Linked DNA regions of Homo sapiens: all the other regions are linked to region 1. The links are contacts of gene promoters, found by promoter capture Hi-C in blood cells and fetal thymus (Javierre and others, 2016). All regions are on one chromosome and are shown on one strand. Each heading gives the region's core, a stretch centred on a gene start or on the middle of the fragment in contact. The rest is flanking DNA. Distances are from core to core; before and after follow the strand shown.

Region 1 (4,854 bases), core at 1,046-3,545:
GCTCAGAGAGGTGAAAGGTTTCCTCCAAGGTCACAGAGTTGGCAGTCATGACCCAAGTCTGTCTGACTCTAAAGACACAAGCTCCTCCCACAAGCACGACAAGACCTCAATTAATTCAATTTAACCAGCATGGGTTGGCACTTACATGTGTTGCCCCTGCTAGGTTCTCAGAACAGGGAGAACATCTGACGTAAGAGACAGACACATAAATAACAAGTTCTAGTATTAAGGCTGATGCATGCCTATGAGAAGTAATAAAGCCATGTGGGCAATACAATTTATCCTGTTGTATATATTTCTGAAAGCCATCCTTAATCCTTTTAGGAAGAGGCAACGGAGAGGTAGATTGGTAGATCAGGGCTGTAATCAATGCATAAACAAGGGGTGGTGGGGAAATGAGAAGGGAGAGATTAATTCCCACTCAAATCCAGGAATGTCTTTTAGAGAATGTGACATTTTGGTTGGGGTTTGAAGGGCCAGGGAGGGTCAGCAAGGGAATATGGGGGACTGGCATGACCTGTCCACCCTCCCAAAGCAAAGTAAAAATAGAACCTTGGTTAGTGCTTGCTAAATATTGGTCCTGAAGACAGAACACTCACATTCTCCCTCATTCCCGCTGTCTTATATACATAGACCTATCAAGACACACCCATAGATAACCACAAATGCAAAAACACAGAAAATACACAAAAACACACACCAGTACACATGCACAGATTATTAAGACACAATATATGAAAATAGATACTAGCTCCCATACTCATAAACTCACACAGATACATACAACACTCATACACACAGACTCACAAACATGTTTATGCATTCATACACAGCCTCCCCCACCCACTACTCATGCAGGAAAATAAATGCATGCTTTAATTAACATACACGGGTTCACACATAAATCTCATCCTGCTGGTCTGGTTGAAGACCAATGACTAATGGGAAACCATGCACAAAGCCAAACATCACGTAGGGGAGGCCGGGATTGGGTTAGCAGTGGGGCTTGAATTAAGCCCCATCAGATGACAAACCCGCCCTGCCTGGCTTCCTCTGGAAGCTGCTGAGCCGAAGCAGCAGCGCCTGACCTAGCTCTGGATCCTGGGCGGATGATGCGAGGCTGCGTGCCCGAATTCCAGCTTGATTCAGGGTTTAGTGTCATCCAGGGTCAAGCTCGGCTATTAGCCCCACCCCAACCCCTGCAACCAGCCGGAGGCTCTGGGGGCACTGAAGGGCTGTGGCCTGGGGCTGCTTTCTAATCCTGGGCTTGCCCTGGCGCAAATGCTGAGAATAGTTAGCATTAATGAGGGTTACAACAGTGGGCCAGGCTCTGGGCTAAGCCCTTTACGTCCATGACTTAATTCTCACAACAGCTCTGTGAGGGGGGTGGGGGGTGAGGGGTGTCCTATCATCTCCATTTTAGTGGTGAAAAAACCGCGCTCAGGCCACAAAACCATTCAGCAAAAGACATCAAGTTGAGGTTCAACCCTGTCTGATCCTATTCTTCCCGGGGTTTAGGTAAGTGTGCTTGCGAGCCTGTCTCCTCCACGCAGGAAGCTTGCACCTTCTGCCCTCAGGGGTCTCCACCGCCCGGTCCCGCCCCCTTGTCCAGTCTGGCACAACACCTGGCCCACAGCAGGTTTCTGGTGAGGGCGTGGGTCTCGGTTCAGGGAGGCCCTCAGCAAGGGCCTCAGCTTCCCCATCTCTGAAATGGGAATGGCGGCAGAGACCTCGCAAGGCTGCGACCAGGCTCTCTGGAGCAGCAGAGGGCATGCCAAGCTCTACATCGTCGCTGCCGCTGCCCTCTCCCATCGCGGGGTTCCCGCGCGGTCCCCGCCCGAGCTGGGGTGCGGCGCTGGCGCCCCATTGTTCAGGAGGGCGGGGATGCTCCCGAGTGCTGATTCCACCCCCCGCTCGTGCTCGCAGCCCGGTGGAGCAGATGACTAGGCCCGGCGTCTGCCGCGCGGGGCGCATCCTTTGTCTGCTCCGCGGCGCCCGGTGCCCGAGGCCCGCGCCCCACTCTTTGGGCAGACAAAGCCGGGGCCGCCGCGAGCCCGGCGGGCTAGAGCTGGGCTCGCACCACCCTTCTCCCGCCTCACGGACCGCCCCCTCTCCTGGACGTCCTCTGATTGGCCTACGGGGCTACAAAGAGGCCGGGAAGCGGGCGGATCACGTGGGCGACTGTGGCTTCCCATTGGTTAGGCGCGGCTGCCAATCGAGGAGGGCGGGCGGTCCGCGCTCGGTCCGGTCGCTCCCTCCGCGCTGGGGCCCGCCCGCGGGGCCGGCCGCCTGTCAGAGGGAGGTGGCGATGGTGCGCCCGGTGGCGGTGGCGGCGGCGGTTGCGGAGGCTTCCTTGGTCGGATTGCAACGAGGAGAAGATGACTGACCAACCGACTGGCTGAATGAATGAATGGCGGAGCCGAGCGCGCCATGAGGAGCCTGCCGAGCCTGGGCGGCCTCGCCCTGTTGTGCTGCGCCGCCGCCGCCGCCGCCGCCGCCGTCGCCTCAGCCGCCTCGGCGGGGAATGTCACCGGTGGCGGCGGGGCCGCGGGGCAGGTGGACGCGTCGCCGGGCCCCGGGTTGCGGGGCGAGCCCAGCCACCCCTTCCCTAGGGCGACGGCTCCCACGGCCCAGGCCCCGAGGACCGGGCCCCCGCGCGCCACCGTCCACCGACCCCTGGCTGCGACTTCTCCAGCCCAGTCCCCGGAGACCACCCCTCTTTGGGCGACTGCTGGACCCTCTTCCACCACCTTTCAGGCGCCGCTCGGCCCCTCGCCGACCACCCCTCCGGCGGCGGAACGCACTTCGACCACCTCTCAGGCGCCGACCAGACCCGCGCCGACCACCCTTTCGACGACCACTGGCCCGGCGCCGACCACCCCTGTAGCGACCACCGTACCGGCGCCCACGACTCCCCGGACCCCGACCCCCGATCTCCCCAGCAGCAGCAACAGCAGCGTCCTCCCCACCCCACCTGCCACCGAGGCCCCCTCTTCGCCTCCTCCAGGTGAGTCCGGCGCTCCCTCTCGGGCAGGACCCGTCCTCACCTCAGCCCCGGCAATCTAGGGTTGGGCTCTTGCCTATAATTTATCGTTTGTTACCCCAAAGACACCCCAGGTTCCGGCTCCCGAGGGGGGATCCCAGGTCCAGCTAGTCTCCCTCCCGCCCCCGATCAATCTGGAAAGTCTTTTGTCCCCCGTGGGCTGTGCTCCCTCGGGAGGGGGTGGCTGCTGGGTGGAAGGCATCTCATCTTCTTCCCAACAGGGCTTTCTGGCCTTTTTCAGAGACCAGAATGGGCGCAAACTTTTGGGTTGGGTTCGCGCACCCAGCCTCTCTGCCTGGGTTATTTGGGGAAGTTTGAAAGCCCGCATAGTACCTCCTTCAACCACTGGGTCAAAAGCTGAGGGTAAGGAATTCCTCCCAAAGCTCCAGTTTCCCTGTTCATTTCTTCTTGTTTATGTAAATATCAGATGTGTGTGTATGACAGGTGGAAGAGAGGTAGTGAGAGGATTTTGTTTACAAACAGTAGTATGGACCACTTGAGGGCAAAAAATAAAAACAAAAAAGGCATTGTAATCCATGTTGTCCCTGCAAATAAGTGGATTCAGTAGGTCATTTGGGACAGGTGTGTATCTAGGCTGAGCACATTTACAAATTAGGTTAAATCTCTTCCTCGCACCATTTTTTTCTTCCACAATTATAAGGTCAACATGTTTGGCCAAATACACCATTTAAGCAAGGATGCCTATTTTTGTCTCCTTAAGCCAGGATGTTCAACTTTGCTGATGCTGATATATGCCAATTTCTGTTTGAGCCCACGTAGAAAAGGCTTTTCTTGCTGAAGTCTTCAAGCAAAGTTAAAGACAACTCGTATTCTTTCCCCGTTTAAATCTTAAGTGGGCCTAGGACTAAAACAAAACAAAACAAAAGCCTACTTTGTCAGAACGTTTGGACAAAAGTTTCTGAATTGTCTTGCTTTGAGTTGGGGTGGAGGTTTGTCCAAATCCTTTGTCTAGCTGGGTCTCTGACCTAAATCTTAGGCTTAGTGATTTACTGTGGAGTCAGGTATGGACTTTGGACTATAATTGAGTGTGTAGAGAATTTTCCCACATGGTTATGAACCTTAATACAGTCTTGATCCTTGGGTTGGAGCTTGGCAATGACATAAGTAGGATTATTCACCCATAAAAAGCCAAGTGTGCATCTCTTCCAGCTTCAAGGAATGCATTAGCTAGCTGGGTTTTACCTGTAACCCCTTTTGGCTTTCATATAGAGAGATTGACATATTACTGAGAGACAGGAAGCATAGTGGTTGAGAGTATGGACTCTGGAGTTTATTCTTAGGTTTGAATCCTAGCTCTTCCCCTTGTTAGCTGTGTAAGCTTAGGCGGCTCACTGAAGCTCTTTGGACTCAGTTTCTTTGATTGTGAAATGAAGATAATATTATAGTAGTACTTAACTCATAAGGTTGCTGTGAAGACTTTTTTTGTTTTTGTTTTTGTTTTTTGAGACAGGGTCTGGCTCTGTTGCCCAGGCTGAAGTGCAGTGGCACAATCTTGGCTCACTGCAACCTCTGCCTCCCAGGCTCAAGCGATCCTCCCACCTCAGCTTCCTGAGCAGCTGAGACTACAGGCGTGGGTCACCACACCCAGCTAATTTTTTGTATTTTTTGTAGAGATGAGGGCTCACTATATTGCCCAGGCTAGTCTTGAGTTCCTGAACTCAAGCAGTCCTCCTGCCTCGGCCTCCCAAAGTTCTAGGATTTCAGGCATGATTCACTTCACCAGGCCTGCTGGGAAGATTAAATAAGTTAACACTTACTGTGCTTACAACAGTTCCTAGTGTAGAATAAGC
Region 2 (4,854 bases), core at 593-3,092, 690 kb before region 1:
AGATGTTAATAATAGGGGAAATAGGGTGTGGGTCATATGGGAACTCTACTATTTTCACAAATTTTTGTAAATCTAAAACTATTCAAAAACAAGTTTAAGAAATGTAAAGCAAAAAATTATTAGCTCATGGGTCATGCAAAAATAGGCAGACCACAGGCCATAATTTGTCAATCTCTAGTCTAGGAAATAAGATCCAACTCTTTTACCAATTGAGGACATCACAGAGCTAACAAGATTACGTAGAATTCCCAGCCTAGGATCTTAGAGGATAGAAGCTCAGGGAATAATGAGCCTGTGCCATCTTTACATCCTTTTCCATGGTCTTGCCCCAAATCTCATCAAAATGACAGGGAAAAAGTAAAGCATCTACAAGAACAGAGAAAGCATTAGATGAGAGAGGTCACCGATTTTTTTTTTAAAAAACTGCACTAGGAAATACAATCTAAGGCTGAGGCCCTAAAACAAAGCTGAAAAAAGTATTTTTTAAAAATTTTCTTTGTGACATCAGAAATCTACCATAACTCTTTGGAATTACTTAGCCAGGAGGGTAATTACTGAGCCAGAAAGACAGAGGCTCAGGAGGGTTAGCCCGGCATTTGAGATGACCTTTCCCCTGGGGTCATCTGCCTATTTAATAAAAGTCCTTTAAGAGAATGAGTGGTGCTTTTGAAAACCTTGAGCGGCAAAGGGGATAAAGAAGAGAGTCCAGAGCTCACTGATTATTAATACTGATATGTTAGGGCGTAGGTCTGACATTTTATTTTTTCTTTTCTGTTTGTTCCCTTTGTTTTTTTGTTTCCTCTGTTTCTCTTTTCTTGCCTTTCTGTGGATTACTTGAACATTTTTCAGAATTCCATTTTGATTTATTGATAGTGTTTTCGAGTGTATCTCTTCATATAGATTTTTTTAAGTGGTTGCTCTAGGTATTACATTGTACATACCTTTCATTGTACCAAGGAAATTTTCTTTTTTCTTTTTTTTTTTTTTTTTCATTTTTGTCCTGACCTAGTTGGCAGGAAATTTTCTTTTATTCTAGTATGCTAAGAATTTTTATCATGAATATTTGGTAAATTTCATCAAACTGTGTGTCCACGGAGATGATCAAATAACTTTTTCCAGTATTTCTTAATAAAGTGAATTATATCGATTGGTTTTATTAATCAAAATTAAGCTTTCATTTCTGATATAAATTCAGATTAGCCAGGTGCTATTAGAAGAGCTAAAATATTAATAAAAAATTATAACAATACCATGTTCTGGCAAGATGCAGAGAAACAACGTTTCTCATCCCACCATTACTGATAAAATGGTATAACCACTCTGAAAAGTATTTTGGCAGTTTCTTAAAAAACTAAATATATACAACCATGCAACCCAAGAATTGCACTTTTAGTATTTATCCTAAAGAAATCTTATATCTACATAAAACCCTGCACACCAATGCTCATGGCAGCTTTATTTGTAATAGCCAGAAACTGAAAACAACCAAAATGTCCTTCAATGGGTGAATGGTTAAACAAACTGTGGTATACTAACATCATGGAATACACAAAGAAAGGAACTCAGATAGACCAAAAAGGCATTGTGCTGAGTGAAAAAAATATCGTTTCAAAAGGTTATATACTGTATGATTCCATCTATATAATGCTTTTGAAATGACAAAATTAGAGAGGTGGAGAACAGATGAATGGTTGCCAGGGGTTAGTGATGGTAGAAGTGAGGGGAGTAAGGTGAACTATAAAGACATCTTTGTGTTATAACATAGCATAAGGAATATCTTTGTGAGGACAGAATAGTTCTGCATCTTTTTTTTTTTAACAGAGTGTGGCTCCGTCACCCAGGCTGGAGTGCAGTGGCACGATCTTGGCTCACTACAACCTCCGCCTCCCGGGTTCAAGCAATTCTCATGCCTCAGCCTCCCAACTAGCTGCAACTACAGGCGCACACCACCACACCTGGCTAATTTTTGTATTTTTAGTAGAGACGGGGTTTTACCATGTTGGCCAGGCTGGTCTTGAACTCCTGGCCTCAAGTGATCCCACCCGTCTCAGCCTCCCAAAGTGCTGGGATTACAAGTGTGAGCCACTGCTACCAGCCTAGTTCAGTATCTTGACTGTGGTATTGGTACAAGAATCTATATGTGTGATAAAATGGCATACTACTATAAGCACACATTATACTAATGCTACTTTCTTGGTTTTTATACTGTACTATAGTTACACAAGAATGCAACTATTAGGGGTAACTAGTGAAGGCTAATAGAACTCTCTGAATCATCTTTGTAACTTCCCATAAACACATAATTATTTCAAACTAATTTTTAAAAAATATGTACCCTCAATGAGGTCTTACATGTCTACCATTTTTTTAAAAATTCCAGTAGTCTGTTCCCTCCTTATCCATTTCTCCAGTTATTTTTCTTCACAGCCCTTAATCCCTTCTAAGGTACTAAAATATTATGTAATTTACTTATTTTATTTATTATCTATCTCCCCGACCAGAATGTAAGCTTCATGAGAACAGAATTTCCTGTCTGTTCACTGATGTATCCTCAATACATAGTAGGTGCTCAAAATATGTATTGAATGAATGAGTAATGTTTAGCAAAAACATTAGTTGAGTAATATGTAGTTGAGTAATATGTAGCAAAAACGAGTTATGGCTGGGAATAGTGGCTCACACCTGTAATTCCAGCACTTTGGGAGGCTGAGGCAGGAGGATCATTTGAGTCCAGAAGTTTGAGACCAGCCTGGGTAACATAGTGGGACCTTGTTTCTACAAAAAAATGTAAAAATTAGCTGAGAGTGGTGGTGCACATCTGTAGTCCCAGCTACTCAGGAGGCTGAGGTGGGAGAATCACTTGAGCCCAGGAGGTCAAGACTACAGTGAGGTAATATTGTGCACTCACTGCACTCTAGCCTGGGCGATAAAGTGAAACCCTGTCTCAAACAAACAAATAAAACCCAACTATCTAGGCCAAGGTCTAGAGCATCATCAGTGCTCAGAAAAGAAGAAAGACTGACAATGTTCTATTTCTTTGCTAGTAGTGGTTTCTATTTAAAAAGACTAATAAAATTGACAAACCACTGGCAAAATTAGACAAGAAAAAAAGAAAGCACAAGTAACAGTATCATATAAAAAGGGGGAGCTACTCTTACCAATAATACAGATATTTAAAAGCTAACAAAGCATATTATAAGCAACTTTAATAAATTTGAATATATGGATGAAATAGAAATTATTTTAGAAAAATATAAAATTACAAATGACACAAGAAGAAAACTGTCCCACAAAATAACGCTAGGCCCTTACCTCAGACCATTTACAAAAGTTAACTCACAATGGATAAAAAATCTAAACATAAGAGCTAAAACTATGAAACTCTTAGAAGAAAATATAGGAATAAATGATTATCTTGGATTTAGCAAAGATTTATTTCTTTAAAAAGAATTTTTTTTTTTTAGAGACAAAGTTTCACTATGCTGTTTCACTATAATACACTGTTTCACTACAGTACAGTATTAAAACCTCAAACTCCTGGGCTCAAGGGATCCTCCCGCCTCAGCCTCCCAAGTAACTGGGACAACAGGCGCACACTACCATGCACAGCTGGGAATGGTTTCTTAGATATGACACCAAAAGCACAATCAAAAGAAAAAAATAAATTAGAATTCATCAAAATACAAAACTTTAGTGTATCAAAGAATACTAACAACAAAGTGGAAAGACAACCCATAAAATGGGAGAAAACTTTTGCAAATAATTTACCTGATGAGTTAGGTATGTAGAATATGTAAAGAACTCACACAACTCAAAAAACAGCTTTCCACAGTAGCTGAACTAATTTACATTCCCACCAAAAGTGTATAAGTTTCCCTTTTCTCTGCAGGCTTACCAGCATCTATTTATTTTTATTTTTTAATAATAGCCAGCCCGGCGCAGTGGCTCACAACTGTAATCCCAGCACTTCGAGAGGCTGAGGCGTGTGGATCACGAGGTCAAGAGATGGAGACATCCTGGCCAACATGGTGAAACCCCATCTCTACTAAAAATACAAAAATTAGGTGGGCATGGTGGCTGAGGCAGGAGAATCACTTGAACCCAGGAGGCAGAGGTTGCAGTGAGCTGAGGTTGTGCCACTGCACTCCAGCCTGGCAACAGAGCGAGATTCCATCTAAAATATAATAAAAATAAAATAATAATAATAATAGCCATTCTAACTGATATGAGATGGTATCTCATTATGGTTTTGATTTGCATTTCTCTGACAATTAGCGATGTGGAGCATTTTTTCATGTATTTGTTGCCCACTTGCAGGTCTTCTTTTGGGAAGTGTCTGTTCATGTCTTTTGCTCATTTTTTAAATGGGGTTATTGGTTTTTTGCTTGCTGATTTGTTTAGGTTCCTTATAGCTCTAGATATCAGACTTTTGTCAGATGCATAGTTTGCAAACATTTTCTCCTATTCTGTAGGCTGTTTACTCTGTTGATAGTTACTTTAATTGGTAGCTTTAATTGGAAGCTTGTTACTTTAATTAGGTACCACTGGTCAATTTGTTTCCGTTGCAATTGCTTTTGAGGACTCAGTTATGAATTATTTCCCAAGGCTGATGTCCAGAATAGGTTTCTTAGGTTTTCTTCTATGATTCTTATAGTTTGAGGTCTTACATTTAAATATTTAATTCATCTTGAGTTAACTTTTGTATTTGGTGAAAGGTAGGGGTCCAGTTTCAGTCTTCTGCATATGGCTAGCCAGTTATCCCAGCACCATTTATTGAATAGAGAGTCCTTTCCCCATTGTTTATTTTTGATGACTTTGTTAAAGATCAGGTGGTTGTAGATGTGTGGCTTTACT
Region 3 (4,854 bases), core at 670-3,169, 640 kb before region 1:
GCCTTCCAAGTGGTTGATAAGAAAACCTACTATATCCCTTGGCCTTCTCAGTCCCTATGTCCTCTACAGAAAGCAAAAGCAAACTAAAAATGAGGATGACACTTGATACAGAAAATAGGAACACAACACTGAGGTGATGGGAGTTCCCAGGATGATAGTGAAAGCAATTGCAGAATGATAGCCGTGCACACCAGATGAAGGAAGTCCACACAAGGCTCTGAGAGAGAATTCTTCCAGAAGATAAAATTGATAGTATACCTGACCTCTTTGAGAGGAAATTTAGGCAATTGATTTAAGGTTGGATCAATAAGTACGTTGAAAACCGAACAAAGGGAAAAAATAAGACAGTAATTCCAGAAAAAACAAAAATAGTACAGGAAGAGAAAACCAGTGATACCTCACTACTTGGCTTAGCTTTAAATTGCACTTACAAATTCATAATATAAAATCTCATATTGATCTAAATGAAGTTATGATGTAATTATATTGGAAAGCTGGGTATAAGTATGTGGTGGGGGTAACGGGGAGGAAAGAGAACTAAATCTTTTTCTGTAGTAGAAAGTTAATAGTCCTCAAAACTGAAAAAGCAAGAAGTAACAAAACAAGCATTTCCTTCCTTCCTTCCTTCCTTTTCTTTCTTTCTTTCTTTCCTCACTTTGTTGTCCAGGCTGGGGTACATCACAGCTCACTGCAGCCACGAACCCCCAGGCTCAAGCAATCCCCCTATTTCAGTCTCCTCAGTAGCTGGGACTACAGGTGTGTGCCACCACACACAGCTAATTTTTTTTAAGAAGTTTCAAGTAGAGATGGGAGTCTCACTAGGTTGCCCATGCTGGTCTCAAACTCCTGAGCTCAAGCAATCCTCCCATCTCGGCCTCCCAAAGTGCTGGGATTACAGGCGTGAGCCACCATGCCTGGCAGAAGCATATTATTATTATTATTTTTTTTTTTTTTAAAGTAGAGACAGAGTCTCCCTATGTTGCCCAAGCTAGTCTCAAACCCCTGGGCTCAAGGGATCCTCCCTCCTCAGCCTCCCAAAGTGCTGGGATTACAGGTGTGACCCCTGCACCCAGCTGCAAAGCGTATTATTTAGAAATATGGAGGTAGATATCAAAATGGTCAAAATAGCAAATGTTTTTGAGGAGGAGGAAATTGGAAGAGGTGAGCATGGGAATGCCCTTTTTTTGTACTAATCATATAGAATGGTTTGACTTTTTAAACTTTATGCAAGTGTAACTTCAAAAACACAAATGCATAACCACGAAGGCCAAAAAAGAAGGTGAAAGAGAATAGCTACAGGGAAGAAAAATAGGTTACACATTTTATTTATTTATTTATTTTTAAAAATATGATTTAAGGCCGGGCGCAGTGGCTTATGCCTGTAATCCCAGCACTTTGGAAGGCCATGGTGGGCAGATCACTTGACGTCAGGAGTTCGAGGCCAGCCTGGCCAACATGGTGAAACCCCATCTGTACTAAATACAAAAAGTAGCCGGGTGTGGTGGCAGGTGGCTGTAATCCCAGCTACTCAGGAGATTGAGACGGGAGAATCGCATGATCCCAGGAGGTGGAGGTTGCAGTGAGGTGAGACTGTGCTGCTGCACTCCAGCCTGGGCAACAGAGCAAGACTCTGTCTCAAAAAATAAATAAATAAATATATATATATATATCATTTAAAAATATGGTGTGTACACTAGGAAAATTTTCAAAGAATATACCAAAATACCTCTGAATTTAAAGTAATTTTTCCCTCCTTTGTTATACTTCTGTGAATTTTTTGCATTATTACCTTTGTAATCAGACGGAAAAGCTGTTGCATATTACAGGAACAGGAAACAATTAGAAATGTGAGAGGAAAGCCGTGTACAAAGATGTTCACTACAACACTGTTTATAGCACTAAGAAATCAAACAACCTGTGTAATCAGGAAGTGGGCAATAAATGATGCTGCATAAACCTAGTGAAATATTTTACAGGTGTAATTTTTAAAAAGAGGCTCTAAACAACTTTATACTCATATCATATGGTTTTCACCTTTATTCGTACTGTACTCCTAGCTAAAATGCTCTAATGCCTTTTCCCTCTTTCCTTTTTCTTTTCTTTTCTTTTCTTTTGACAGATTCTTCCTCTGTTGCCCAGGCTGGAGTGCAGTGGTACAATCTTGGCTCACTGCAACCTCCACCTCCTGGGTTCATGCAATTCTCCTGCCTCAGCCTTCCCAGTAGCTGGGATTACAGGCACTCACCACAACGCCTAGCTAATTTTTGTATTTTTAGTAGAGACGGGGTTTTATCATGTTGATCAGGCTGGTCTTGAACTCTTGACCTCAAGTGATCCACCTGTCTCGGCCTCCCAAAGTGCTGGGATTACAGGCGTGAGCCACGACGCCCAGCCTCCACTTTCTTTTCGTCGATATTTTCTTACTATTACATCCTTCAGGAAACCCTCTGACAGCCACCTGAATCACCTCCCCGCCCCATTCCTTTCTCACCTCCATCCTAACTGCGTGAGTTAACTCATTCTGTGTCTTCAAAATATTCTGAACAGATACTCTATATCTGTACTTACCACCTAATATTATAATTATGTGTTTGTCTGACTTTCCCACTAAACTTTAACCCTGAAAGCTGGGATTGGGTCTTACTCATTGTTATCATTTCAGTACAAAGCAGAGGGCCTAATAAATAGTAGATGCTTAATAAATGTTTGCTGAATAAAGTAATGAGTAATGTGGAAATATACTTGTGTTATGACATCACATAGATAAGGGAAAGTAGTACTTACACTTCAGGGCTGTATGAGGATTAGATGGGGAAATTCATGTAAAACAGCTGGTGTAGTGCCAAGCACATAGGTATTCAGCGAATGGTAAGGATGAAGATGGTGGTGATTATGCTAGTAACAGTTGTGAGAGTTGTATATTTTTTGTTTTCAACAGACAGCCCCAGTAAGGGCCTTGGACCTTGCGGATGGATTTTGGTGGCGTTCTCATTCTTATTCACCGTTATAACTTTCCCAATCTCAATATGGATGTGCATAAAGGTAAAGAACATTTCATTCACTTCTGGGAAGGGGTCAACTCCTACCTCCATAAACCTACTTCGTGTGTGCCTGTGTGTATGTGAGAAAGAAACAGACTGTCTCTCTCTCTTATAATTCTTATTTCTTCATCTTTCTTTGGAAAATTTATTCTTCTACCCACCTATTAAAATGGAACCTTAAAACTTCTTTTCAGCCATTGCCCTTCCCCGTGGGCTAAAGTAAGTTTCACCATCAAAAATTTCCTGGGGCCAGGGATGTGAGATGGTTCTGAGAGAACAAGTTCTTCAGAGTTAGGATGATAGGGTTTGACTGCTGGCTTTACTGTTTATTGTGTGACCTTTGCTGTTTCCTCACCTGTAAAATGGGAGAAAGTAACAGTACCTACTTCATAGGAGTGTTGCGAGGATTAAATGAATTATGTGTCTAAATGTACTTATCACAATGCCTGGCACGTCATAAATACCCTCAGTGCTCGTTATTTTTTCTACAAAGTTGTTAATACTTTGATATATGACTATTATTTACATATTTCTAAGAAGATAAAATATGCTCCAAGCATTTTCAGATCAATTTATTCTTAAGGGAATCAGAAGAAAAACTGTGAAGACTTCAGCTTTTTGTGTTTCTGAATTAACAATGCATGAGTAATTTTTTTTTTTTTTTTTGAGCCAGAGCCTTGCTCTGTCGCCCAGGCTGGAGTGCAGTGGCGCGATCTCGGCTCACTGCAACCTCCGCCTCCCAGGTTCAAGCGATTCTTCTGCCTCAGCCTCCCGTGTAGCTGGGATTATTATTATTATTATTATTTTTTTTTTTTTTTTTTTGAGACGGAGTCACCTTGTGGCCCAGGCTGGAGTGCAGTGGTGCGATCTCGGTTCAAGTGATTCTCCTGTCTCATCCTCCCTTGTAGCTTGGATTATAGGCACCCACCACCATACCCGGATAATTTTTGTATTTTTAGTAGAAACAGGGTTTCACCATGTTGGCCAGGCTGGTCTTGAACTCCTAACCTCCGTGATCTGCCCACCTCGGCCTTCCAAAATGCTGAAATTACAGGCGTGAGCCACCGTGCCTGGCCTGCATGAGTAACTGAATAACAATGTTAACAGCTGAGGAGTGAGGTTATGGATTTGTTTCTGTATACTATTCTGTCCTTCCTAAATTTATACAGTGAATATCTATTGCTTTTGTAATCAGTAAGAAAATAATAAATAAGCTTTGAGAAGGTAAACATTGGACATGTGATTTATAGATATGATCTGGTTCTAAAGAAAAAAGATGAGGCATCTAATCTGTTTAGAGCAGAAATATATATTTAAGAAGCCATGCATGTATATATTTGTACTCTTCATGTTAAATTATTATTCATGTTTTTATTCTAGATTATAAAAGAGTATGAAAGAGCCATCATCTTTAGATTGGGTCGCATTTTACAAGGAGGAGCCAAAGGACCTGGTCAGTACTGGGATTCTAGATTGTTTATCTGAAAACTAAAGTTCTTTTTATTTTTTTTATTTTTAGGTAGTTGTTTTTTTAAAGACAGGGTTTCATTCCGTCGCCCAGGCTGGAGTACAGTGGCATGCTCATGTCTCACTGCAGCCTTGAACTCCTGACCTCAAGCAATCATCCCACCCCAGCTTCCCAAAGCACTAGGATTACAGACGTGAGCCACCGTGCCCAGTCTAAAATTTTTTTATTGACGTGATTTCCCTTATGAGGGCCTCTTCTACTCTGTCTTAGATAAGAGTTCATGTAGCAGGAGTTGTATAACAATAGCAGTGGTTCTAGCCAATCTTTTGTTACCCTTTCCTTCCT
Region 4 (4,854 bases), core at 1,252-3,751, 620 kb before region 1:
CTGGAAAATGGGAGAAAGGCTATAGTAAAAGAGAATGTCTTGATCCAGGCACTAGTCAGGCAAGTCAGTTTCAGAAAAAGAAGCATATGGAAACTGAGTATGTAGAAATTGATTTTCTTAAAACTACTCTGGCATACGCCCTAGAAAGTTTTGTGGACCACCTGAGGTATACATACCCCCGGTTGAAGAGTGCTGTGTGTCCCCATGAGGTTTTCTCCAGTTCAACCCCTCCTTTCACCTGTCCATAGGTTATTGCAGCCGAAGGAGAAATGAATGCATCCAGGGCTCTGAAAGAAGCCTCCATGGTCATCACTGAATCTCCTGCAGCCCTTCAGCTCCGATACCTGCAGACACTGACCACCATTGCTGCTGAGAAAAACTCAACAATTGTCTTCCCTCTGCCCATAGATATGCTGCAAGGAATCATAGGGGCAAAACACAGCCATCTAGGCTAGTGTAGAGATGAGCGCTAGCCTTCCAAGCATGAAGTCGGGGACCAAATTAGCCTTTAACTCATAAAGAGAGGGTAGGGCTTTTCTTTTTCCATATGTCAATTGTGGTGTTCCCAGAATGTATAGCAGTTATAAAAATAGGTGAAAGAATTGTTAGCTTGTAAATACTGAGAGATTGGTGATTTATATAAGGTAATCTGTTAGTCTTAAAATAGTTAAAAGTTTGTATTTTTAGATTATTATGTAGTAGGTTAGATCCCTCTTGTTTTGACTTCCACTGACTCATTCTGAACCCCCTAAGCACCCAGGCCAGAGGCAAGAACCTGGGCTGTAACTGCCACCTGACACCGCTGACTGGCTAAATGCTTTGCAGAAAGTGATGACCTTACACCACAACCAGCTTCTCCAGGTCATATGTGCCTTACCTCCAGAGAGTCTTTTTTTTTTTTTTTCTGAGATGGAGTTTCACTCTTGTTGCCCAGGCTGGAGTGCAATAGCATGATCTCGGCTCACTGCAACCTCCGCCTCCTGGGTTCAAGAGATTCTCCTGCCTCAGCCTCCCCAGTAGCTGGGATTACAGGCTCATGCCACCATGCCCAGCTAATTTTTGTATTATTATTATTGTTTTTTAGTAGAGACGGGGTTTCACCATGTTGGCCAGGCTAGTCACGAACTCCTAACCTCAGGTGATCCACCCACCTCTGCCTCCCAAAGTGCTGGGATTACAGGCATGAGCTACCACACCTGGTTTGGAGAGTCTTAATTAAGGAAATTTCCCTAATGTTCATTTATTTTCTAAATCCAGACCGTGTTTCAGAATAATCCTTACTTGAGAGTAGCCATTTTCTTGCCTGTACTTGTCAGAACTAGAGGAAATAGCCAAGACTAATGAAAAAGATTACTCTAACCCTTAAAAGACTTTTAAATTCACTACTAGAGTGGTCATTTTAAAAATACATCCATGTTTTAACTTATTTGAGCCTTCTTTATGAGTAAATGATTCCTCCTTGTTCTGTCTTTCAAACCAGCTAAATATTTGTCACAAAAGTGCTTTTTTCTCACTGTTGCCTATTTTCATATATCAGGTTTTAAATAGTTTTAATTTTTTAATAAAATTTTCTCTACGTTCTATATGCAATTGTTATATATCTATTTGAATAGCTGAAGGACTAAAATACTTTTTTAAGAGATAACTTCAGGAAACCATTATATTTTACTATCTGCATGCTGTTAACTGTGGTACACTGTGAAATATGTTGATTACAAACCCATTCATTACATAGTATAAGGAATTCACAGTATATTGACTATATAGTGTCTAATGATCTTGGGCAGATACTGTCAAACTTACAATATCTATATAGATGTAGGTCTTTTTAAATTTACCTAGTCATTCTTCTATCATGTATATTGATGCTGAAAGAGGAACTGGTCAGCTCCTCTGGACAACAAATTCTTAGTCTATAATATTAGGAGACATCTTCTGTTTTGCAAATGTCTGTGAATCTGAGCAACCTGGCATTCTGCTTACTGGCCAGAAAGCTGGCGGGTGACATTTGTAACATTTCCTCTTTGAGACTCTGAGTTCACCTAGAGAAGTCTAAGCATAACAGCTTTCTTTCCCAGCACGAGCCTTTATAGCTCTCTTTAGCTCAACCACTCTGTCCATCCAGCCAATGGATGTCCCTTCCCCTGTACCCCAATTTCAAGCTTATTTTAGGAAGCCTTGAACTACCATGTATCCTGGCTCCTAGCTGAGTTTATTAGAGGTATGGAGCAGTGCAACTTAAACTCAAGTTGCACTTACATTTTGAATTTTAAAATGATGGTTTTATCTGTTGTGTGAAGTGGTTCACCCTTGAGGACCAGGAGCCTCCATATCCTGACTGAAAACCTTTTCTGAGACTTAGAGTAACAGTGCTTTTGGTTCCTTGAGTTCTCCTGTCTCCAGATACCAAATGACCTTGACTTTTCTGCCTTGTGAATTCGTAGTCCAATCAGCTGAAATTAAATCACTTGGGAGGGACGCATAGAAGGAGCTCTAGGAACACAGTGCCAGTGCAGAAGTTTCTCCAGGTGGCCTCCCTTTCCAACAATGTACATAATAAAGTGTATGCACTTTCACTAATATTTTTGGGGTGAGAGTCTGTTTCGGCCTGTATTGAATGTCTGTGGATTTCCGTTTTCAGAAGTAGTACATTAGATCCTCCGGTTCTGAGCTGGCTGGTTGGCTTCTTCGTGTGCTTTGTGGGCCAGGGGAAGGGGACAGGCTGCTGTGGGCCATCTGCTGTCTCCCAGGTCCAGGCACCCTCTGGTGCACTGGCCCACACATTTTCCCTGGGGAGTTTCAAGATCCACACACACCCTCCACCACCACCACAAAGCTTTAACTGACTTCATTTTCTTTTGCCTTCCTCCAAACAGGACAGGAACCCACTTCTTGCTGTCACCCAGTTAATCACATAGACATAGCCTTTACTTAAAAAGAAACAAATAATGATAAAAAACCAATGTGTTTTACCTGCAACATCTGACAGAACTGTCTTGAATTAGTGGCTACCATTTGGGAGCACCAGTCACTCAGCTCTGTGCACAAATACGTGTATGTACATTCTATCATTTTATCTCAAAATGGTTTGATAGACACTTTATTATCACCATTTTGTAGATGAGGACACTGAAGGCTCAAAGGTTAAAACAGCCAAAGTCACATGGTCGGAAAGAAACAGAGCTGGGATTCAAACCCAGATCTGTCTAATGCCAAAGATTTGTGAGGTGTATCAGTGTATCTTCGTGTGACACTGCCTGCCTCTAGTGCCCCCATCCACACACCACCACCACCATTTTGTAGATAGATCACAACTTTTCCCAAGACTATCAAAGTTCATTTGTCTTTACATTCACACCTAACTGGGCCCTAAACTTAAACTTTTGTTTTGGGCCATCCAATTCAGCCAAAGTTCACTATAAAAAGAGGAGAGTCAATTGGGCATTTGTTTGTTTTTTTTTTTTCTTTGAGATGGAGTCTCGCTCTTGTCATCCAGGCTGGAGTGTAATGGCGTGATCTTGGCTCACTGCAACCTCTGCCTCCTGGGTTCAAGCGATTCTCCTGCCTCAGCCTCCTGAGTAGCTGGGACTACAGGCGCATGCCACCACGCCCGGCTAATTTTTGTATTTTTATTTTTAGTAGAGATGGGGTTTCACCATGTTGGCCAGGCTGGTCTCGAACTCCTGACCTCAGGTGATCTGCCCACCTCGGCCTCCCAAAGTGCTGGGATTACATGTGTGAGCCACTGCACCCGGCCCGATTGGGCATTTGTAACCACAAATGTCATAACACACTGTCCTGAGCAGGAGGAAACCAGTGTTCCATAGACTCTCAGCTTATGTAGCATTTTAAAATATATCATTTCTTGTGATACTCACAAACCTGCTCTCACAGTTACTTGGCTAGTAAATAGTGAATCAAGTGCCTCTTCCTCTTACTTTCAGCAGCAAACCCCTTTTTTCAAAGGTAACTGCATCAGTAAAAGGTTTACGGTGTCTTTTGCCAGGATAAATTCTTGAGTTCACATTTATAACATTTACTGAATATAAAGTAACTCAATGAGAACAATGAGGCTGTTTTGAAAAACAATATTAGAGTTACGAAAGAGTTCCAATCTTATATTCAGAGTCTACATTCGATTTCTCCATTTTGCTTGTCTGTTTTTATTACCACTTTAAACATGGAATTTGAATCTAATATTTACAAAATCACAGAAGCACCTCATAGAATTCTACATATTTCTGTTTGAAAATCACTGCTCTGGAGTGCTTTCCTTGCTATAGCATCCACTTTATAATGTGACCTTGGATAAGTCATATGTTCTCTCAGCCTCATTTTCCTCACCTGTAAAACAGGGAGATTATAGTCCAGCTGTTTGGGTCTCAGACCTTTTGAGAATGTGTTGGAAGCTACAGAGCTTCGTCTGAAAACTGCACATAGTGTGCACAACACAAATTTGGATGCTTTGGGGGTACACTGGCCCCACTCCCAAACCTATCCAAAGACTTAAGAAATCCTGGGCTAGATCATGTCTAAGATCCAACTACACAGCTATGCAGTTACCTGAAGAGTTTTTACTTTATAGGAACCAAGAAGAAGGCAAAAGGAACCACGGTTGAATGCCAGCACTGTGCAAGACACTTTACACAGCTTTTTTCATGTCCATGCATAATCTCATTTGGCTGTGTTGACCAGGCCACAGGAAAATCTCCGGGGATATTAGTGATGATCTCTTCCTGTGATGTTGTTAACATCAGGTCTACAGCAGACCCAGGCTCAGATCAAGCTAGGATTTGCCTAAACCAGTCACACTGGCTAATAGGATACAGCCCCTTTCAATCTACCCTGTAGCCA
Region 5 (4,854 bases), core at 956-3,455, 550 kb before region 1:
AACTAGCACCAGCGGAGGCAGATTTCAGCCCTGGAGAGAACGGACTTCAGGAGGCAAAGCCCTCGAAGAGTGACATAGGCTGCATGCAAAGCAGGGGAGATTCCCTCCCACGGAAGGGAATAAGGAGGAAGAGCGATTCCCAGCTCATTCCGAATGAAGTAACGAAAATGCCAAGTGCATCCCTGGTCCTTAAAGTGGACCATTAAGCAGGCGCCTCGGAGTCAGAAGGCCTGGTTTGGAACCCCAGACATCGACTAGTCCTGTAACTTTGGGCAAGCGAGCTCACATGTCTAAGTCTCCGTTTCCTCGTTTGTCAAATGGGCATCCTGAATTGCCGCTTCATGGGGCGGTTGAGAAGACTCAGTGAGAAAAAGACTCTCAGCACAATGACAGGGACCGTGGCTTCTGCATAAACGGAAGGGATGTTCTTATTAGTGTCATGGCAGATACTGTTTTAGGAGATTGAGGAAATCCACATTGGGTAGAAAGATGAGTGCAAGGTCAATTTTAAGCAAATGTAATACTTTGTTGATTTCAACAACATCTCATATGCATTTGAGACGATAGCCGTTTATAATGCAGCAAGGCATAAGACGGCCTCCCAGCAGTCCTGGTGCACACATGAGTTCCCAGGACTTTTGGAGTTGCCGCGTGACTCCGGTTTGGAAGGATTCACACACTCCACAGGAGACTGCACCACATGACAGAGATGTCCATTCCCAGCCTGGGTGCTGGCAGCAGCCCCATGTTCAGCCAGGGTAAAGCTCCCTCTTAACACAAGGTAAAATGTACTAGAGTCAGTAATTGCCGGGTGCTGGGGATCAGAGCAGAAAAGGCTGTTGTTTAAGTAGCACAGAAGCCAAGAGCACAGTGCTCACTCCCTGGTTTTTCCATTGAATAGCAGCCAGGGAAGCCACAGGACCCAGGGAATCTCACCCTGGCTCTTCCTCCTGCCATTCTCTCTTTGTTCAACACCAGTAAATACAAGAACCATTTCTTGAATGCCTCATGCCATGCTCTGGGCTTCCCACGTATTACCGACTTTAATTCTCACCTCCCTACCTGGCCTCCTAAGGGAGGCATTACCATGTGTATTTTTCAGATGAGCAGGCCAAGCCCACAGAAAGGGTTAAGTACTCTCTGGAGGTCACACTACTGATACTGTGCAGTCTACTCTTCTATGCCTGAGTCCTTGGCCCTCGCTTCTTTGCTCAATGTCTTATGTCACACTCTGCCACCTTTCCTGGCTTGGGAAATTCTGCCCAGTTCCACTTTCTCTGAGAATACAAGCAAGGTATCCACCCCGCAGGGAGGCTCACACCATCTCTGCTACTCTCTGCTTTCTCCAGAGGCTGCCTGGGGCCCAATGCAAGGCTGCTGGGGAGAAAAGCAAAAACACAGGCTTATTTGGCTCTGGAATCTTTGATTACAAGCCCCGGCATACACATGCCTTGGAATTATCTAACATATCATTTCCAGCCCCAGCAACTGCTCTCAGACAAAGGGAGGTGGAACTCTGAATCTGTGTCCCCATAGAACTGGAGAATACCACATCACGATGGAGGAAACATTGGAGAATGTCTGCTCCAACTCCTCCCTTTAGAGATGGAGAAACTGAGGCCAGGAGAGCAAAAGGGTTCACATTCTAAGCTAGATCTAAGGTTCCATATTCTAAGCTGGGTCAGATGCCTACCCATAACCCTGTAATTGCTCCATTTGGTGGCTGGAGAGGAACATGGGAACAGGGTATCACCAGGAATCATTAGAAATGATAATGAAGATAATGATGATGATGATTGATTGATGATGATTGTGATGATGATAACCAATACTTACATGGGAGTGCTCCTCTAGGAACACTTCTAGAAATCTCCTGGTGCTTTGCTTTATGACTCAACATGTGTATTTTATAGCTGGCAGGATATATCAAGTCTGCCTTTCATGGATGCCTAGAAGTCTTCTTGGTATCCTGTCTTCATTCCTTTCTAGATACCTCTTTGTACTTCTCCCCCCATTGGATCTAGGTAAGGTAAGGCCTGTTTGTCCTGGATCCTCACCTCAGAGTGAATGTCTTGCTGATAAGGATCTCCTCTGATGGAAGAACTTTGATATCTTCTTTTGCCAGAAGACCACCTCCTTCCCAGAGTGAGGCTGGGGAGAAATGAAGGCCACACACAGGCCAGGCATTAGACAATCTGGGGGTACCTGCTCTCTCCTCTGAGAACGCCTCTTCCCACCCAAGGGGATGGCCCTCACTTGCACCCAGGTTTGTACTGTAACCTTCCCCCACAACACAGTTGACAGCATGAGGAGTGGACGGCAGAAAAAAGCTGGACTATTAGAATTTGGAGCTGGAAGTTGAGACATGACAATCATGGTTAATTAACTGGGTCTGTGAGGACCAATGATCTCTGAAGGCCAAGGCTGCCATTTTGAGGTGGCCATCTTCCATCGTATTCACAGAGAAAGCCAATGAGGCTCGTTAAATGACTAGAAGGGTGTCGCAAAACTCACAGAGGAGATGCCTGGGCTGGGCAGCCCAGGAGGCTTCAGGGTTCAGGGGCTCTTCTGATTACAGACCTCTCCTGGAGCTGGCTTCAGAAAGAGAAGTTATCAGCACAAGTATTTGTTGAGCATCGAATGCCTTGTAGTTTGTCCCTAGAAGCAGAGGATGAGACAGGGATTTCATACAAGGGATTACTTGAGAGAGCACTCTCAGGAGATCCTGAAATATCCCATGGAACACTAGGGCAGGGGTGCAGCTGGGCCTCAGGATCAGACCACAAGCAGGACCTGAGTACTAAAGGGAACCCAGAAAGTACTCTCTCCCCCATCTTTCATCTCTGCCTGTCTGCTCACATCACACAAGCATTTCTGCTTTCCAGAAAATGGCTTTTACCAGCAGCAAGCTGGAATCTTTGTTTGTAGTCCACATTCTAAGTTGGATCAGATGCCTACCCTTTATCTAATTAACTCTGGCCCGAGTGACAGGGTCCTACTGCACAAACCTGGCTGCTCCCACTGTAACCTGTGGGTGGAGGGGGTGCACTTCCCAGAGAAAAGGGGAGGGGAAGCCAAGCAGAGACAACGGCTTGGATTCAGTCAGCCTTGAAAGGATGGAAAGAATAAGAGTGGAGGTGAGGAAGGGAACAGCATCTTCTGCTAAGAGCACAGAATAAGCAAAGGTGTGGAGGTCAGAGAAAGACAGAGCTGGAAGAAGGAAAGGAGACTGTTATTTTCTCCAGCCTCGGTCCCCTTTAGTGTTGTGCTAGTGTTGTGTTCTTAAGAACTGATTTAGTGTGTTTAGTGTTGTTTTCTTACGAACTGATTGCTCAATTTCCATGAATTTTTGTGGATTTTTTTGAGACAAGATTTCACTGTCACCCAGGCTGGAGTCAGTGGCACAAACATGGCTTCCTGCAGCCTTGACCTCTGGGCTCAAGCAATCCTCCTGCCTTAGCCTCCCAAGTAGGTGGGACCACAGGTACATCCCACCAGGCCTGGCTAATTTTTATGTTATTTGTAGAGATGAAGTCTCTCTATGTTACCAGACTGGTCTTAAACTTTTGGGCTCAAGAGATCCTCCCACCTCAGCCTTTGAAAGTGCTGGGATTATAGGAGTAAGCCATCACACCTGGCCAAATTTCCATGCATTCTTACACCCAGCTGTATTAAGGCTGTATTAAGCACAGCCTTCAATAACAATCTATATAAACTTATAATTAAGTAAATTATAAATTGATATGGTCTGGCTCTGTGTTCCCACCCAAATCTCATCTCGAATTGTAATCCCCATAATCCCCATGTGTCAAGGAAGGAATCTGGTGGAAGGGAGGTGATTGGATCATGGGGGCAGTTTCCCCCATGCCGTTCTCATGATGGTGAGTTCTCATGAGACCTGATTTTTTTTTTTTTTTTTTTTTGAGATGGAGTTTCCCTCTCGTTCCTAGGCTGGAGTGCAATGGCGCAATCTCGGTTCACCGCAACCTCCACCTCCCAGGTTCAAGCGATTCTGCTGCTTCAGCCTCCTAGTAGCTGGGATTACAGGCACCCGCAACAACGCCCGGCTAATTTTGTATTTTTAGTAGAGACGGGGTTTCTCCATATTGGTCAGGCTGGTCTCGAACTCCCGACCTCAGGTGATCCACCTGCCTCAGCCTACCAAAGTGCTGGGATTACAGGCGTGAGCCATCTTGCCCAGCCGAGACCTGATTCTTTTAGGAGTGTTTGGCAGTTCCTCCTTCACACACTCTCTCTCCTGCCACCACGTAAGACTTGCCTGCTTCCCTTTCCACCATGATTGTAAGTTTCCTGAGGCCTCCCAGCCATGTAGGACTGTGAGTCAATTAAACCTCTTTCCTTCATAAATTACCCAGTCTCAGGTATGTCTTTATAGCAGTGTGAAAATGACTAATACATAAATAGAGGTAATAAATTCTCAAAACTTAGTACTTCATAATTATTTTACTATATTTCACTATTATCTGTGCTCTTATTTTCACCATTTATCTATATGGTAGAAATACTGTATAATTGTGTGCAATTGCATTTCTACTCGCAACTCCACACTCAGTGACATCATGCTGGTAGCCCAGTCCCCACGGTGGGAATATTTACACCATGGAGATCAGGAAAGGCTATAAATCAGGGTTTTCCTTCTCCCTCCACCAAGAGCCTTTCGTTTAACATTTACCAGCACACCACTGCTCAAAACCTGGGCTTCCCCCATTCGACTCACTGCATTCAGATTGTCCATTTATGTGTATATCTCATTAGACTGGCAGCTCAGTGGAAGGAGAAAATGTGTTTGCTTGGTTTTCCGACATCATCCCAGTGTCAAATAGTGCTTGGCAC
Region 6 (4,854 bases), core at 1,423-3,922, 520 kb before region 1:
TATAGTTAGTTACCTAATAATGTCCTCATTATCTGGGTCTCTTGGACTTTACCTCTCAACCTCCTCAAGAGTATCAGCCTCTGAGTTATAATGCTTTGGTCTCTAAATTAAAGGGGCAAGATCAGGTCTAAAAGATGACTCCTTTCAAAAGAGCCAAGATGCTCTTTCTTGAGCATTTTCTTTTGGGTTGTTGATGTGCCTGTGGTTCTGTGCTGCTGCTCTAAGCAAATAGTTTCTTTGGTTGCTTGGTTGGTTGGTTTTGTTTGTTTGTTTGTTTTTGAGGCAGAGTCTTGCTCTGTCGCTCAGGCTGGAGTACCGTGGTGTGAGCACAGCTGCTCCCAGGCTCAAGCAATCCTCCTACTTCAGTCTCCCAAGTAGCTGGGACTACAGGCATGTGCTACTCACATGCAGTTAATTTTTTAATTCTTTTTGTAGAGACAGGGTCTCACTATGTTGCCTAAGCTGGTCTTGAACCCCTGGGCTCAAGTGATCCTCCCTCCTCGGCCTCCCAAAGTGTTGTGATTACAGGCATGAGACATCACCCCTAGCCTAGCAGATGATTTTGACTGCCTACTTGCTCTTTCTTATACAATAAATAGATGAGCAAAAGAAATTTCCTTTTCCTGTTTATTACATATGCATTGAGATTCCTGTGTCTTACAGCTCTCCCTCTCTGAGCAACACACAAAATCCTGCAACTTTTGCACAGCTGATATTTATCTGATAGCAGTGAAAAGCCTTGTCTTTGGTGACCTTTACTGAGTTTCCATGCAGAAGAATCACATGACTAAAATCATTAATAGAGTGGTTGCTTGGGGTACAACAAAAGAAGAAAGAAAAACCTATAGCCATTCTACATTCTGACATGTGAACAGTGGTTTAAGTTTCTAAAGTGTTTACCAGATGCTGAAGGCAAGGTGAGAAGCAAAGGCTCTCATGTTTGTGGATATTTTAATCTCTGTTAGGAAGCAGCCTTTGGAAAATCCCTGATTTGGTTCTGCTTTCGGACCTACCTCTGCCTTTTCAGGGTAATGTTGTGGCACAGGTGGTGGCACTTAGAAGTTTTGGAGTTTTATTCCTGCTCCTTCCTGATGCAAGCCCTGAGCTGTCTTCTATGCAGTTGTGCCTTATTGACTGTTTGGTCTCTCTGTTCTTTGTTACTCAGGTGCAATAGCAACTTCCCTACTCCATGCATTCTACCTTTCAAATTGTGTAAATTTCTTTTCTTTTTTTCTCTTAGGGTGTAGGGTACGGGGGAAGTCAGTATAATTTTAATGTAGAAAATGTGATATTTGGATATAAATGAAAATACATGTTGGCCGGGCATGGTGGCTCATGCCTGTAATCCAGGCACTTTGGGAGGCTGAGGCGGGCAGATCACGAGGTCAGGAGTTCGAGACCAGCCAACGTGGTGAAACCCTGTCTCTATTAAAAATACAAAAATTTGCCGGCCGTGGTAGCGTGTATCAGTAGTCCCAGCTACTTGGGAGGCTGAGGCAGGAGAATTGCTTGAACCCAGAAGGTGGAGGCTGCAGTAAGCCGAGATCGCACCACTGCACTCCAGCCTAGGCAACACAGCAAGACTCTGTCTTGGGGAAAAAACAAACAAACAAACAACAATAACAACAACATGTTAAATAATGGAAAAAGAAAAAAAAGAGAGAATTAGAGTGAGGCAGCCACAAACCAAGAAACACCTGTGGCTGCCAGGTGCTAGGAGTGCGGTCTGGAGAACAGCTCCTTCCATTGCCTCTTCAGAGGGAATGTGGTCCTGTGGACACCTTGATTTCAGATTTCAGGCATCCAGAGTGTGAGACAATACATTTCTGTTGTTTTAAGCCACCCAGTTCATGATACTTTGTTATGGCAGTCCTAGAAAACTCATTCAGACCCTCAAGGAAATAAGAGCTATTTGGAATATGTGGCCGAGACTGCTAGGTGTTCACCAAAAGGCTTTCCATTCTACTTTTTTGCCTAAGTATAATAGGAGCCAGGCACATGGCTGTCCCCCTAGACTGTCTTTGCCAGCCTTGCTTGTGTTTAGGGTGGCCAGGTGCCTGAATTCTCACCAGGGGAATGAAGTGGGAGTCACGTGTCATTTCCGGGCCTGGGTTCTAAGATAACCAGCAAGCTTTCTCCACTGTCTTCTTTCCCACCAGCCAGAACCCAGCTGCACCGATGCAGAAGAGAACACTGCCCTGGGGAAGAATGAGCGACAAAGAACCAAAGCTGCCCTTCTGCTCTGGGCCACTCACCTCAAGGGGAAATAGGCTACTCTAGTTTGCCTTTTTATTACAGGAGCTTAGCTTTTCCTCCAAGTGATCCATGATTCTTGAGCTGGACAGGGAGAGAGGCACTGAGAATCCTAATTGTCTTCCAGAATAGGAACGACCAGCCCTTGGAAGACAGTGGCTAAGCACATAATCTCTTTGGGTAATCTGGGACTTTGGACAAGCTGAAGCTAAAATTCTCAGCCACCTAAAAGGGAGATGAAAGATGTGGAAACCAGTAGGGTGGCTGCTTCTGAAAGCATCAGGTATCTTGATTTAGGATAAGGACAAGCTCACGTCTTGAGATGTTTGCCACAAGGCACAAAGTGAAACTCACGACTTTTCTCTGGCCAGATGGAAACTGTTCACTGGGGCCATGGGTGCGAGATTGCTAAAGCCAAACTCGGATTCGGGGAGTTGCTGAATTTCAGTGACAGCCAACGGCATGACTTTGCCAGGTTTCCTTTAGGAAAGGATGGTGATATCTGGGGCTTGCGAGAGAACTTGGAGAATTCCTACCCACTAACCATCTTGGTCTGCAGCCTTTCCTCTGCGCCTCCCTCTCATGGAGAAGGAAGGAAGCTAACACTCTTCCTTCTGCCCCACACCTCCCTGTTTCTCAGCTGGGAACTAACTCCATCTGGAACAGCCAAATTGTTCTCATGGCAATGTCCTACATTTATTTATTTAACTATTTAATTTATTTGTTTAGAGACGGGGTCTCACACTGTTGCTCAGTCTAGTGTATGGTGATGCAATCATAGCTCACTGCAGACTTTAACTCCTGGGCTTAAGCGATCTTCCAGCCTTGGCCTCCCAAAGTGCTCGGATTACAGGTATGAGGCACCATGCCCAACCCTACATTTATTTTTTATCTGGATTTGCTTTCCCTGCCCTTCGTGCCTCCACCAGCACCACAGCCTGAGGGCTTATAGAAGCTTTTACCTAGTCATCGTATGTCACACGATGCTCCCTCTTATCAAGGAATTCACTTCATGGCAAAAGTGGCAGTGACTTAAGGCCTGTGGGATTCACTCTTCACCTAACAGACCCCACCCATGACCCAGGAGCAGCTGGCTCCTATAGCACAGTAGAATGGCCTTGTGGAGGCTCACAGTGCCCATGGGGAGATAACTGCTTGCTCCCCTCCGGAAGGGATCGGTGCTGTGAGTCAGCATCCCATATGTGATGCCATTTCCTGTGTCTCTCTATTACTTTTCAAGATGTAGCAGTGAGGCAGGCACTGCAAAGTGTCTCCCAATAGCCTTTCTTACTAGAAGTAGTAGAATTTAGAGCTGGGTGCATGGCCACCCAAAATCAAGATACCATTTTCCAGTCTCCCTTGCAGCTAGGCACGGCCGTGAGATACATATTAACCAATGGAATACAAGAAGAAGCCACATGTGGTGGCTTTAAATAACCTTCTACAGGAGAAAGCACCCTTTGTGTTTGCATCCCTTCCTCTGTCCTATTGCCTGAAGTGTCATCTTGACCCACGAGGCTTAGGTCATGCATTGCATAAAAAAAGCATAAAGAACCAGGGTCCCTGACATCTTAGAGCACTATTCCAGTCTGGATCACTTACCCAGACTTTTGTGAGAGAAAGAAACTTTCGATTTGTTCAAGGCATTATTGTCTGGGGTTTTCTGTTGCTCAGTGAAGGCAAACTGAATTCCAATCGAAACAATTGCTTCAGGAACGAAGGGGTGGAATTGCTCAAGGTGACACCTAACATCTGCTCTCCAAATGTTAGACTTCCTGTCCTGAGACTCTAGGCCTTGCTAGCTATAGGTTTTAGGGTCTCTTTTGGCTATCTGTTGCTGTACAACAAACCACTCCAAAACTTTGTGGCTTTAAATAGTAAAATATTGTTATCTCTCATGGTTCTATGAGTTGGCTGGGCTCAGCTCAGTGGTTCTTGCTTGGAGTCTCTTACGAGGTTGCAGCCAGTTGCTAGGTGGGGTTGGAACCATCTGAAGGTTTAACTGGACTGGACATCAAAGATGGCATCTTTATTTGACCTCCTGTGCCTCAGTGGTCTTATTCTGTGTGCCTGGCAGAATAGCCTGGATATTTATTTATTTATTTATTTATTTAGATGGAGTCTCGCTCTGTCACCCAGGCTAGAGTGCAGTGGCGTGATCTCAGCTCACTGCAACCTCCACCTCCTGGGTTCAAGAGATTCTCCTGCCTCAGCCTCCTGAATAGCTGGGATTACAGGTGCATGCTACCACGCCCGACTAATTTTTTGTATTTTTAGTAGAGACGGGGTTTCACCATGTTAATCAGGCTGGTCTTGAACTCCTGACCTTGTGATCCACCTGCCTCAGTCTCCCTAAGTATTGGGATTACAGGCATGAGCCACCGCGCCTGGCTTGCCTGGACTTCTTATGTGGCAGCTCTGGGCTCCAAGAGGGAGGAAGAGGAGGTTGTTAGTCTTATTAAAGGCCTACCTCAGAGCTGACAGAGAGCATCACTTCTACCACATATTGTTGGTTAAGCAGTCTCAGGCCAACCCAGTATTCAAGGGCTGAGGAAACACATTTCACCTCTCAACAGAGAAGTGATAGGGAATTTGTAGCCG

The links. The method cuts DNA at HindIII sites, captures the fragments that hold promoters and counts their contacts. A CHiCAGO score of 5 or more calls a contact.
Region 2: a contact is called between a fragment that was not itself captured here and the fragment with the promoter of MEGF9 in region 1, in 5 of 17 cell types (total CD4 T cells, naive B cells, naive CD4 T cells and 2 more). The highest score is 6.8, in total CD4 T cells.
Region 3: a contact is called between a fragment that was not itself captured here and the fragment with the promoter of MEGF9 in region 1, in 7 of 17 cell types (naive B cells, total CD4 T cells, activated CD4 T cells and 4 more). The highest score is 7.3, in naive B cells.
Region 4: a fragment that was not itself captured here is called in contact with the fragment with the promoter of MEGF9 in region 1 in 2 of 17 cell types (total CD8 T cells and naive B cells); the score reaches 6.0 in total CD8 T cells.
Region 5: a contact is called between a fragment that was not itself captured here and the fragment with the promoter of MEGF9 in region 1, in 5 of 17 cell types (monocytes, total CD4 T cells, erythroblasts and 2 more). The highest score is 10.2, in monocytes.
Region 6: a fragment that was not itself captured here is called in contact with the fragment with the promoter of MEGF9 in region 1 in 2 of 17 cell types (monocytes and activated CD4 T cells); the score reaches 5.3 in monocytes.

The regions. Positions count from the first base shown.
Region 1 is chr9:120,711,911-120,716,764 of GRCh38, reverse strand. It overlaps MEGF9 (multiple EGF like domains 9), which reads left to right and starts at 2,295. Exons shown (of 6, transcript NM_001080497.3): 1 at 2,295-3,007. The coding sequence starts at 2,407. RefSeq lists a silencer at 1,758-2,607. The HindIII fragment of the contact is 2,825 bases long and covers 1,560-4,384 here.
Region 2 is chr9:121,402,844-121,407,697 of GRCh38, reverse strand. The region is part of intron 3 of LOC102723324 (a long non-coding RNA gene); the gene reads right to left. Among named protein-coding and RNA genes, the nearest start is that of STOM, 35 kb to the right of the region's middle. The HindIII fragment of the contact is 1,338 bases long and covers 1,174-2,511 here.
Region 3 is chr9:121,354,241-121,359,094 of GRCh38, reverse strand. It overlaps STOM (stomatin), which reads left to right. Exons shown (of 7, transcript NM_004099.6): 2 at 2,939-3,042; 3 at 4,422-4,494. Among named protein-coding and RNA genes, the nearest start is that of STOM, 14 kb to the left of the region's middle. The HindIII fragment of the contact is 4,677 bases long and covers 1-4,257 here.
Region 4 is chr9:121,336,803-121,341,656 of GRCh38, reverse strand. STOM (stomatin) reads left to right here. Exons shown (of 7, transcript NM_004099.6): 7 at 249-2,670. The coding sequence ends at 455. Among named protein-coding and RNA genes, the nearest start is that of STOM, 31 kb to the left of the region's middle. The HindIII fragment of the contact is 674 bases long and covers 2,165-2,838 here.
Region 5 is chr9:121,262,958-121,267,811 of GRCh38, reverse strand. It overlaps a transcript of GSN not described here. Among named protein-coding and RNA genes, the nearest start is that of GSN, 2.8 kb to the left of the region's middle. The HindIII fragment of the contact is 6,397 bases long and covers 1-4,854 here.
Region 6 is chr9:121,232,976-121,237,829 of GRCh38, reverse strand. It overlaps a transcript of GSN not described here. Among named protein-coding and RNA genes, the nearest start is that of GSN, 33 kb to the left of the region's middle. The HindIII fragment of the contact is 1,077 bases long and covers 2,134-3,210 here.